Regions from separate parts of the Homo sapiens genome. Here regions 2 and 3 are each linked to region 1. The links are contacts of gene promoters, found by promoter capture Hi-C in blood cells and fetal thymus (Javierre and others, 2016). All regions are on one chromosome and are shown on one strand. The core of a region is centred on a gene start or on the middle of the fragment in contact, and the rest is flanking DNA. Distances in the headings are between cores, read along the strand shown.

What was found. The method cuts DNA at HindIII sites, captures the fragments that hold promoters and counts their contacts. A CHiCAGO score of 5 or more calls a contact.
Region 2: the fragment with the promoter of SAP25 here is called in contact with the fragment with the promoter of LAMTOR4 in region 1 in 10 of 17 cell types (activated CD4 T cells, monocytes, naive CD8 T cells and 7 more); the score reaches 14.7 in activated CD4 T cells.
Region 3: a contact is called between the fragment with the promoter of TSC22D4 here and the fragment with the promoter of LAMTOR4 in region 1, in 10 of 17 cell types (total B cells, fetal thymus, activated CD4 T cells and 7 more). The highest score is 11.3, in total B cells.

Annotation. Positions count from the first base shown.
Region 1 is chr7:100,147,224-100,151,120 of GRCh38, forward strand. It overlaps LAMTOR4 (late endosomal/lysosomal adaptor, MAPK and MTOR activator 4), which reads left to right and starts at 1,695. Exons shown (of 4, transcript NM_001008395.4): 1 at 1,695-1,752; 2 at 2,276-2,356. The coding sequence starts at 1,750. RefSeq lists enhancers at 698-1,310, 1,335-1,394, 1,665-1,774, 1,923-2,535 and silencers at 2,075-2,164, 2,175-2,264. The HindIII fragment of the contact is 7,868 bases long and covers 1-3,045 here.
Region 2 is chr7:100,572,623-100,576,519 of GRCh38, forward strand. SAP25 (Sin3A associated protein 25) reads right to left here and starts at 1,278. Exons shown (of 6, transcript NM_001348680.2): 1 at 975-1,278; 2 at 675-778; 3 at 484-590; 4 at 238-391; 5 at 32-129. The coding sequence starts at 1,120. LRCH4 (leucine rich repeats and calponin homology domain containing 4) reads right to left here. Exons shown (of 18, transcript NM_002319.5): 15 at 3,616-3,701; 16 at 3,249-3,386; 17 at 3,083-3,160; 18 at 1,389-2,682. The coding sequence ends at 2,485. RefSeq lists enhancers at 2,142-2,696, 2,697-3,250. The HindIII fragment of the contact is 23,848 bases long and covers 1-3,897 here.
Region 3 is chr7:100,477,047-100,480,943 of GRCh38, forward strand. It overlaps TSC22D4 (TSC22 domain family member 4), which reads right to left and starts at 2,168. Exons shown (of 5, transcript NM_030935.5): 1 at 1,748-2,168; 2 at 231-1,261. The coding sequence starts at 992. TSC22D4-C7ORF61 (TSC22D4-C7orf61 readthrough) reads right to left here and starts at 2,168. Exons shown (of 6, transcript NM_001395846.1): 1 at 1,748-2,168; 2 at 231-1,261. The coding sequence starts at 992. RefSeq lists enhancers at 1,804-1,873, 2,574-2,683 and a silencer at 2,324-2,483. The HindIII fragment of the contact is 34,188 bases long and covers 1-3,897 here.

The DNA.
Region 1 (3,897 bases), core at 445-2,944:
CACGCCCAGCCTTGAAATTGCTGTTTCTAACAAGTCTTAAAAGACACCCAGACTTTAACAATTGTTATTATATTCAGATTTTTTTGTTGCTTTTTGAGACAATCTTGCTCTTTTACCCAGTCTTGAGTGCAGTAGCATGATCATGGCTCACTGCAGCCTCAACCTCCTGGGCTCAAGCGATTCTCCCACCTCAGCCTCCCGGGTAGCTGGGACTACATGTGCAGTATCATGCCTGGTTAATTTTTAAATTTTTAGAGATGGGGTCTTGCTATGTTGCCCAGGCTTCTAGAATCATTCTTCATATTATTTCACTAACACAGCCTCCACCACATTAATATGGCAACAGGTTTAGAAATTATTTAAAACAAAAATTTCTAATGTTTACATATATTGTGTGATGTGTGTGTGTGTGTGTGTGTGTGTGTGTGTGTGTATCATTCCAAGGTACTGTTTCTAATTTTTTCCTGTAGGGAATGAATATTCAGTATTGCAGCTGCATTGGCTAGCTGGGGATTCTATTTACCACCACATTGTCCCGGACTGAATCTGGGGACAAAAAAACCACTTCGGGAACAAATTCTTGTCTTCAACAAAGAGCTGTCTTGAGTAGGCACAAAAGTAGCATTTGAGGGCCGGACGCGGTGGCTCAAGCCTGTAATCCCAGCACTTTGGGAGGCCGAGGCGGGCGGATCACGAGGTCAGGAGTTTGAGACCAGCCTGGCCAATATGGTGAAACCCTATCTCTACTAAAAACACAAAAATAGCCGGGCGTGGTGGTGGGCGCCTGTAATCCCAGCTACTCGCGAGGCTGAGGCAGGAGAATTGCTTGAACACGGGAGGCGGAAGTTGTATTGAGCCAGAGATCGCGCCATTGCACTGCAACCTGGGCGACCGAGTGAGACTCCGACTCAAAAAAAAAAAAAAGTAGCATTTGAGTACCTTTTTTTTCCTTTTCTTTTCTTTTTTTTTTAGAGGAAGGGCACCCAGGCTGGAGTGCAGTGGCACCATAATAGCTCACTGCACTCTGCAACTGCTGAGCTCAAGAGATTCTCCTCCATCAGCCTCCCTAGTAGCTGGAATTACTGGCGTGAGGCACCATGCCCGGCTTATTTTCTTATTTTTTTGTAGAGGTGGTTGGAGCGGGGGGACTGGGGAGGGTCTCGCTATGTTGCTCAGGCTCGTCTCGAACTCTTGCCCTGAAATGATCCGTCCTCGGCCTCGCAAAGCGCTGAGATTACAGGCGTGAGCCACGGCGCCCAGCCTTGAATAGTTTTTCACATGCATTGCACGTTATTTCCTTTTATTCTCTAGTTTTTGGGTCCAGTCTTAAACCTGGGAAGGGATTCATTTGGGGGGGTCACACCAGCGGGCATCCTGGCTCAGGCGGAACTCTGGCTCCAGACAGTGCGCCCAGGACCAAACGGTCAACCCCGGCCTACTCCCGCCCCTCCCAGATCCTCCCCTCCTCGGACGCTCCCGCGTCTTCCTCTCGCTCAGGCACTGAGGGGCGGGGAGATGGGTGTTAAAGAGGGGATATCACCAATCAACGTGCGCCTCCGGGAAACAGCGCTTCGCACTGGCTGGTTGGGTCTGACGACGTGGCCACTGTCCAATCCTCATGCTAGAGGCGGGGCTAAAGGCCAGTGGCGCAAGCAGAAGGAGGAGCGCAGCGGCTGCAAGCACGTGACCGGGGCCTGAAGCCGGAAGCTACCTATCTGGTAGGGAGCTCCCCCAGCACCGAAGACTGCGATGGTGAGTGAGGACGCATGCGCGAGAGGACCCGCCGGGGGTTCAGCGTCTCTGCTCCCCAGTCTGTGTGGTTTCCCCCTGGTGGGCCTGCGCTCCACCCTCACCTCCTATCCGCTCGGGGAGGAAGAGGGGATGGAAATGGGAGGGATGGCGACGAGAATGCTGGGGAGGGGTCTGTGGGAGGGTGTTCTGGGGCTGCGGGTAGTCTGCAGGTCGGGCGGAGACGAAGGGAGGTGAAGAGAGGGTCTGGGGGCAGGGGCCAGTGGGGCAGCAAAGGCCCCTTGGGGTAGCAAAGGTGGGATGTGGAAGGCCAGGGGAGCCCGGGGGCGAGAGTGGGGGCAGATGGAGGCTCGGGAAGATCAGTATTGAGGACCATGTAGGGGGGAGGGGGCCGGGAAGGGACCTGGCTGGGGAATGAGAAAACCTGGGGCCATCGTCAACCCAGAGACTTGGGTTTGCAGGTGAAGGGTATCGGGCCGTCCATCCCTCTAGCATGCTTCTCACGACTTGCATCTTTACCCACTAGACTTCTGCGCTGACCCAGGGGCTGGAGCGAATCCCAGACCAGCTCGGCTACCTGGTACTGAGTGAAGGTGCAGTGCTGGCGGTGCGTTCTGGGAAAGGGAGGGGGTCCCTTAGTGCACACAGCCCGGTAACCCCTTCTAATATTGGCCCTTCTTTTCTCGGCTTTTATCTGGTTTCCTGCCTGGCATCTATTAGGTTGGTACAAAAGTATTTGCAGTTTTTGCAATTACTTTCAGTAATCAGTCTGTGGAATCTTAGTCTCCTAACGGCTGCGATTTATTTATTTATAGTTTTTGAGACTGAGTTTCGTTCTTGTTGCCCAAGCTGGAGTGCAGTGGTGCGACCTCGGCTCACTGCAACCTCCGCCTCCGGGGTTCAAGCGATTCTCCTGCCTCAGCCTCCCGAGTAGCTGGGATTATAGGCACGTGCCACCATGCTCTGCTAATTTTTTGTATTTTTAGTAGAAACGGGGTTTCACCGTGTTAGCCAGGCTGGTCTCAAACTCCTGACCTCAGGTGATCCACCTGCCTCAGCCTCCCAAAGTGCTGGGATTACAGGCGTGAGCCAACATGCCTGGCCTTTATTTGGTATTTCTTAAAAAGGCATTTGTATTTTGTTCCATAGTACTGTATGGTGTTAGGTCTCTAGATTACAGGCGTGAGCCACCACGTCTGGCCTTTATTTGGTATTTCTTAAAGAGGCATTTGTATTTTGTTCCATAGTACTGTATAGTGTTAAGTCTCCAGATGTTTTTGACTTAGGTAGAGACAAAGCTTAAGGTTAAGGGTTGAAAACAATACAGGTGGTAAAGACTATTGAGGGAATCCAGGATATTAAAAATTCAACATGTTATGACAAGGTAACTAACTTTCCGGGAGGTAGGAATTCAGCCCACCTTAAAGGAGAGTATTTACAGTGGGGGAGGACTTATTTGCAGGTGTGTGGCACTAACCTATCTGAACTGATGGTAAGTTTATGCTGAAAAGATTTGGGAAGGTTTGAGGGAAGAGAGGAGGATATGGTCAGGGAGGATGTAATTGTGAAGGATCTTCAAGGCCAGGTTAACACACTTGAACTTATTCTTGAAGGTAATACAGTTTGAAAGGTTTTTTAAAACAGAAACAAGACCCAGTGAGGTGGTTGAGCAATATTGTTGTTAGTGATGTGAAGATGGGCAGAAGGAGGCGTCATTAAGAGATGAGACTGGGCTGGGCGTGGTGGTTCATGCCTGTAATTCTAGCACTTTGGGAGGCCAAGGCGGGCGGATCACGAGGTCAGGAGATCGAGACCATCCTGGCCAACACGGTGAAACCCCGTCTGTACTAAAAATACAAAAACAAAATTAGCCAGGCCTGGTGGCGGGCACTTGTAGTCCCAGCTACTCGGGAAGCTGAGGCAGTAGAATGGCGTGAACCTGGAAGGTGGAGGTTGCAGTTAGCCGAGATCACACCACTGTACTCCAGCCTGGGCGACAGAGCAAGACTCCGTCTCAAAAAAAACAAAAAAAAAAAGAGATGAGACTGGGCAAGTGGTGGTAAGAAGGAGGAGCAAGGAGAGAAGAGTTTTGTTTTTGTTTTTTTTTGTTTTTGTTTTTTGAGACAGAGTCTCGCTCTGTGGCCCAGG
Region 2 (3,897 bases), core at 28-2,527, 420 kb after region 1:
GGTAAGGACAGGGAGGGGAAAGAGCTCTCACCTGCTGGGGGGCCTTGGACAGGTACAGGGGAACACGCTGCCCCCGGGGCAGCAGAGGGTCCGAGAGGAAGACATCTTCACAGCACACCACCGGGAACCCTAGGAGGAAACACCACTAGGGTGGCGGGCTGCGGGCTCCCACCCCTGGGCACTGGTTCCCAGAGGAGTTGGGGCAGCCTTGCGCCCCCGGGGGACCAAGGGAGGTACCTGCATCTGGGGGCGCCTGCTGTCCATTCCAGTGCCCTGTGGCAGGGGCCACGGGCCTGAGACCCCTGCCCGAGGCTGCTTCATACAGCGGCCAGAATGAGGGGTGACACAGCGTCCGGCCTGAGAACGAGGCTCCTGAGCTACAGTTGGCCCCCTAGGGTGAGGAGGACAGAGCACTGGAGCCTCAGGCCACCGCACAGCTCCCTGAGCACCCCAGCCAGTCCCACAGGTTTGCCCCCAACTCACCCACACCGGCCGAGGTCCTGCTTTGGCTTCATACTTGGGGTCCCAGGGCGCTAGTGGAGTCATCCTCGAGGGGGCCACCTCCCAGGCCACCTGGGGGGAACGGGGATCTGGGGGGACGCTTGGGGATTATAACAGGCTCACAGTCAGTGAGAGGCTCTTAGGGGTAGTAGAGGCAGCAGGGCCTGTCCTACCTGGGGCTCCGGGGGGCTGCTCAGTGGCCGGGCCTGGCAGGTGGTGGGGCAGCAGCAGCTGCTCTCTCCAGATCCAGGAAGGGCTACGGGATGGGGGCTGTGGGCTGGAGGGGCAGGGACTGAGGCTGCAGCCACACCGCCCCCACGCACCCTCCCCTGGAGCCCAAGGGTGCCTGGTGCAAGGGAGACCGAGGGACCCAATCTCCAGCAGGGACAATGGAGAAGCCTCCGTAGAGCGCGTGGTGAAGGCATGGAGGCCCCCAGTCGCTGTCCCCCCACGGCTCCGTCCGAGCCCCTCACCTGTCCCATGGGGGTGTCCCCAGCTCCCTGGGGGCGTCCGCTCCGGCGCTCCAGGGCTCGCCCTGGTCCTTGCCCGCCGGAAGGCCTGGTCCCTCGGGCGCCTCCTCCGGGCCCGCGCCCCACCGCGGCGGCGACCAGGGCAACATTCCGCGTTCCCGAGCGCAGGACGGTACCGCCGTGTCCCCGCCGCCCGGCCCGGCCCTCTCAGCCTCCCTCCGCGGCGCGGCGCGAACGTGCCCTCCTGGCGAACCCACCCCAGAGGCCTCGCGGCGACGCTGGCGCCCTGTGCGTCTCCCGGCCACGTGGCGCGTGCCCCCGCCGGGCTCCCGCGGGCGCCCCCTGGCGACTGGGCGGTGAATTCCGGAAACAGAGGCCCCCCCAACAACCCCGCGACGCACGTGCTCTCAGACACAGTTACACCTGAGGGCCACCCAGAGGGCTTCTGGCTTCTGTTTATTGCGGCTGACACGACACCTGCGACACCCGCGGTCCTTCCACCCAGACCCTCGACCCCAGAGGCAGCCAGGCCGGCAGGCCAAGGGTGCCCAGGCCCAGGCCACCCTCACCACGTGCTTCTCTGAGAGCGCGGAGCCCAGGCGCGTCTTCTGCTCCCGGGGTCCCGGGCGGGGTGGGCCCTGTGCCCCCACCTTCACCCCTAAGGCCGGTCCAGCAGGGCGTGGACGACAGCAGCGATGTAGGGGAGGCCCCTTCCCGGGGCCCCCTCCTCTTCCAGGATGTGGTGGGGCTGGCACAGTGACTCCTGGGGGAAGGGGCCGGGTTAGCTTCCCCACGGTGCCCCCTGCGGCTTCCGGCCTGTGGCAGGGGGTCGGGGGCAGACCCGAGCATCACCGTGCGCTCGGGGCTCGGCGACAAATGAGACGCAAGAAAGCTGTCAGCGATAACAGAAGGGAGGTGACACGGGGGGTTGGCGGACGCTCCGGGAGCATGAGAGGCCGGCATCTCAGGAGGGAGATGCTGGTGGGCACAGAGCCATGGCCACAGCCACCAACACGCGGAGCAGACGCGCGCGCGCGCGCACACACACACACACAGGCAGGGCGGCCACGGTCTGTACAGTTTATACACAGAGATAGGGACCCGGCCTGGGCCCCGAACCCCTACAAATATAGATCCTCTCTACAAAATAGAGATAATTTAGCCCCCCCATAGCAGCTGTTGGGGGGGGAAGGGGAGGGCACAGGAGGAAGGGGGAGACTCCAGCTCCTGCCACCCCTCACGGGGTACAGAGGGCAGGGGCAGGGCCGGCGGGGACATGAAGGCACCGTCAGCACTGAGAGGTGGGGACTCGTGGGGCTACTGGAGGGAGGCCAGAGGCTGGGGGCCCAGGGTCTGGGGGCACCAGAGTGGGGCCTCTGAGGTCAGTGTCTGTGAAGGGGGTGCACTAGTGTCTTTGGTTGGGGCTGAAGGCACCGCAGGTGGGGTCGGGTGGAGCAGGGACCTTATAAATAGAGAGGAAGGGAAAGGGGTGAGGGAGGGCCGATTTTGGGGCCTAGGAACCCAGGAGCCGAGTGTAGGTGACATAGAGCAGCAGCATGAGGACCACGTAGAAGACGACGAAGCCGCCCAGACCAGAGGGGGGCCAGAGGGGCGGTAGGGCCTTGCCCCCCACCCGCTTCACGGCCTCCAGCGCGGTCCGCAGCCCCCGGGCAGTGCCCTGGAGGAGATCCGAGGGCGAGCACAGGTCAGCCTGGGGGAGAGGAGAGCAGGTGGACAAGGACAAGGGACAGACGTCAGCAGCAGCAGCAGGACAGTCCCTCCCACCCCTGCCCTCACGTGCTGGGGCCAGAACCACGCCCACATGCTGACGTGCTGGGCAGGGGGAGTGCAGTGCAGGAGGAGTGCAGGGCAGGGCATGTGCAGGACAGGTGACATGCAGGACAAGATGGGGCCTGCAGGGCAGGGGATGTGTAGGACAGGTGACATGCAGGGCAGGGGGCATGCAGGGCAGGGGGCATGCTGGGCAGGGCAGGGGCAGCCTGTGCCTTCATCTGAGAGCAGACATCCGCTGCAAATGGAAGCCCACCATCCATGCCACATGCTCGGCTGAGTCCGGCATGCCACCACTCTTTAGAAAGCAGCCCCCATACCTCAGGCACCCCCATTTTTCGACAGGCTTCTAGAAAACTCTCCACATTCTTCCGAGCCTTGAGGGCACTGAGTTTTGGCTGGGGTGGGTGAAAGAAGAAAATGTGGTAAGGGAGAGGCCACAGGCGCCCCGGCCCATCCCCCACCTCTTCCCCAGCCCCAACTGACCACAGCAGGGGAGGGCACATGGATGAAGGGCACGGAGCGCGGCCGTAGCTGGTTGGCCAGCTGGCACAGGATGACCCCACTGGCCAGAGCCTCGGCCAGGTCCTCAGGCAGGGGCCGCTGCAGCCGGGACTCAAGGACCTGGCAGTGTAGACCACATAGAGCAGGGGTCAGGGAAGGAGAGGCGTCTGGGAGGCAGGGAGAGTGGGGGGCTCAGGGCTAGCAGGGAACTTGTGCCTGTCCCTTCCTGTCCTCAGGGGAGGTGCCAGAGTGGGCACAGAGGATGTGGAGGGAGGCTGGTCCCAAGGACAGCAACACAAGGAGGTGCCCGGCCCAGGCCCCTGCCCACGCAGCTCCCGCCTCTGCTCACCTGGCGCAGCTGAGTCATTAAGTCCTTCTCATCTGGAACCTGGGGGTACCGCCGAGGTCTCAGGACAGAGTCTGGTGAGGAAGGGCCTAGGAGAAAAAGGGGGGCATGGGGCTGCCTCCACTGCTCACCACTGACTCTGTAGCTGGGTCCCAGTGGCCTGGCACCTACACCTCCTGCCTCTCTGCTTGTGGGATTTTTTTTTATTTCATGGAGATGGGGTCTCGCTATGTTGCCCAGGCTGGTCTTGAATTCCTGGGCTCAAGCGATCCTCCCACCTGGGCC
Region 3 (3,897 bases), core at 918-3,417, 330 kb after region 1:
AGAGGCCAGGGAGAAAGAGAGAGGGTGCAGAAAAACAGGAAGGAGGCTGAGACAGAAAATGAAGTAGGAGGAAGGGGCTTCAGAGTGACCTGGCAGGCACAGAGAAGAGGGCTATCTGATCTTATAAAGTGATGGAGAAGGAGGAGGAGAGGGGGGGGAGGAGGAGGAAGGAGGCTCAAGATAGAGGTTAGGCCAGGGCTGATGGGCCAGCCCTAGAACCCAGGTCTTACCTGCCCCATCTCTTCTGGAGCACCCAACTCCATCCGCAGCCGCATGTCTACAGCTTTCCTCCGGGACAGTGGAGGGGTCCTGGCCCCTGAGCCCCCAGCCTCCGCTTCCACCCTCAGAGAGGGCAGGGGCGTGGCAGCCCGGGATGTGCCCGCACTCTCACCGGTCTCAGGCTCTGGGGGGCGCTGCTGGGGTGAGGAGGCCGACAGTGGGGGTTTCTCTGCCTTGGCTTTGCTGGGCACCACCAGCTGGCCCAGTCCCCCAGTGAAGGAGCGGGCCTGAGGTCCAGGAGAGGTGGGGGGTGGACGGAGCCAGGAGGTGGGGCCCTGAGACAGGCCTGACGGTGGGGTGGGGGCGCCCAGGCCGAGGCTGGCCAGCTCCAACCTGGAATCCAAAGATCTGCCCCCGGCGCCCCCTGAGGCCCCTCGAATTCCCTCCAGGAGTCCGCCGAAGCTGTGGGGCTCCAGGTCTCGCTCATAAACATCCACACACGTCCAGCGACCGCGGCGATAAGGCTCTCCCAGGCCGTGGGGCAGCTTCACCACCCGGAAACGGGAGGAAGGGGCCCCAGGTGGTGGGGAGCCATTCCGGGGGGTGCCCTTGCCCCCCGGATCGGGGCTGGGCTCCCCATTGGGCAGGCGGGGCGGGGGCCCGGTTGGGGGCTGTGGGGTAGGGGGATCCGAAGCCCCTGGGCTCCCAGGGCCCTCATAGTCCGTGGTGACGCTGGTGATTTGGAAACTACTCTTCTTCTTGCCCCCGCTCATGGTCCCTGGGGCTCAGGGCTGGGCCAAGGTTGGGGGTGGGTTGGGGCTCCTTGAAGGGGCTCAGGCACCCCTGGAACAAGGGGGCCACATGGCGGGGACATCCGAGCCCCTGGGGACGTCTGGGTCCGACATGGCAGGAGGGCCTGGCGGGAACCGGGGGTGCCTGCTGGGTGAGGGGAGAAGAGGAGAGGGGAGGTGGCGGGAGGGGGGAGCAGGGGCAGGTTTTTCCTGCTGCTGTTGCTGCTGAACTCCAGAGCTGAGTTTGCAAACTGGAAAAAGAGGGGGAGAGAGAGAGAGAGAGAGAGAGAGAGAGTGTGTGTGTGTGTGTGTGTGTGTGTGTGTGTGTGTGTGTGTGTGTGTGTGAAACCAGTGGGCAGGCCACCTCCGGGGCTTCCTCTCCGGGGAGCAGAGTGGGGGAAGGGGAAACCGTCAGAGACCCAGAGACAGGCAAGAGATGACAGAGACCAGGGCAGAGGGGACTGGATCCAAGAAGGCACTCAGAGTAGAAAGAGGCAGATGAGTCCCAGAGTTGGGCATTTCTCGCCTGGGATTCTGACTCAGGGGGCCCGTATTGTCCCAAGAGCTCGGACTCCAGGGCCTGGGAGAACCAGGCTGAAGCAGCTCCCCAGCCTGGCCCGGCCACTCAGAGAGACCTCTCCTGGGCCTCGAGCCCCCACCCTCACCCCAGCTCCCACATCTCTGGGGCAGGCCCTGCCCGGCTACCCCCCAGCGCCCCACCCAGCCCTGAACCCTACCTCTGGGGCCTCGGCCACTGATCTGAGCCTGAGGGTCCCGGCGCCTAAGAGGTCGGGCTGTCCGTTCCCTGGGGCCTCCTGGCCATGGGCAGTGGCGGGGCACGCAGGCGGCGATCAGAGGCTGTCCCGTCCTCTCCGGGGGCCGCGGCTCATCCTGCCAGGCATCTCCGAGGAAAGTTTGCTCTCCGGAAAAGAAGAAACCCGCGCCTCCTCCGAGGAGCCTAGGAGCGGCCTCTGAAGCCCCAAGGGTCTGGAGACTGATGTGGGAGGGGGCGGCCGAGCCCCCCTCTGCTCCCGGTGGCAGCCAGCGAGTGGGTGTCCCGAGTCTCCTCCCGCGTGACCCTGCTGGGTCCGTGTCTCCGCTCCTCGGCTCCCCTGGGTCTCTGCCTCTCCGTCTTTCTCTTTCTGGGCTGTTGACAACCCCCACACCAGGAAGTCCTGCCTCCTCGGGCCTGCTGACTGCTCCTCTCCTCCTCCTCCTCCTCCTTCCCCTCTTCCTCCCCTTCCTCCTCCCTCCCTCCCTCCTGGGGCTTCCCGCCAGCTGGCCCGGGGCCAGGCCTGCCACAGCCGCTGCTGTTGCAGTTGCTGCAGCCACTGCTTAGGCTGCTGCTCCTGGGGGCCCCAAACAGACTCCCTTAACCCCACACCTGCCGGGCCCTAGCCCCACTCTTGCAGGGAGGGGCTGCAGGGGGCGGGGCTCGGGGAGAAAGGGGAGGAGCTTGCAGGGAGGCGAGGGATTCCCTTACTTGTAGTCAATTGCTGCCATTGGCCTAGAGACACACAGAAGAGACGGAAGGCACAGGCCGGGAGGTGTGCTGCATGCCCACCCAGAAGTTCCCAGTCCCTGCTGTGGGGCAGCTGTGGCTGTTACTGTCATTCTCCTTTGGTTTTCACAGCAACTGCATTATTCCCCCCATTCCTTATTTTTAAAAGTGGATTATTGCCGGATCCCGGTGGTGGCTCATGCCTGTAATCTCCGCACTTTGGGAGGTCGAGGAAGGAGGATCGCTTGAGACCAGTTTGGACAATATAATAGCAAGACCCCATCTCTACAAAAAATAAAAAAAAATAGCTGGGCATGGTGATGTGCACCTATAATTCCAGCTACTCAAAGGTGGGAGGATCGCTTGAGCCCAGGAGTTCGTGACCAGCCTGGGCAATATAACGAGATCCCCATCTCTACAAAAAATTTAAAAAATTAGCACTTTGGGAGGCCGAGGCGGGCGGATCACGAGGTCAAGAGATTAAGACCATCCTGGCCAACATGGTGAAACCAAGTCTCTACTTAAAATACAAAAATTAGCCAGGTGTGGTGGCGGGCACCTGTAGTCCCAGCTACTCGGGAGGCTGAGGCAGGAGAATCACTTCAACCTGGGAGGCGGAGGTTGCAGTGAGTCGAGATCACGCCACTGCACTCCAGCCTGGTGACAGAGTGAGACTCCATCTTAAAAAAAAAAAAAAACTGAGTGTGGTGATGTATACCTGTAGTCCCAGCTACTCAGGAGGCTGTGAGGCAGGAGGATCTCTTGAGCCCAGGAGGTTGAGGATGCAGTGAGCCAAGATTGTGCCACTGCACTCCAGCCTGGGCAACAGAGTGAGACCATGTCTCAAAAAAAAAAAAAAAGTGGATTATTATGAAAATTTTCAAACATGCCATGCAGACATGGGGAGACCATGCAAACTCCACACAGATGGTGGTCCCAGCCCAAAATCAATTTTTAGAAAATCATCAATGTTATAATGAAATGACATTCAATGAAATGACATTGTGTGGGGGCCAGCTGTAGTTTGCTGGACTATTTGAAATCAGATCCTAGATGTTATACTATTCCCCTTTCCCCCAACCTGCCCCCGCCTTTTTTTTTAGAGACAGGGTCTCTCTCTCTCTCTGTTGCCCAGGATGGAGTGCAGTGGTGCGATCATAGCTCACCACAGCCTGGAACTCCTGGGCTCAAGCCATGCTCCTGCCTCAGCCTCCCAAGTAGCTGGGACCACAGACACACACTACTACGCCTGGCTAAATTTCTTTAAAAAAAAATTTTTTTTTTTGGTAGAGATGGGGATCTTGCAATGTTGCCCAGGGTGGTCTTGAACTCCCGGCCTCAAGTGATCCTCCTGCTTCTGCCTCCCTAGTAGCTGGGACCACAGGT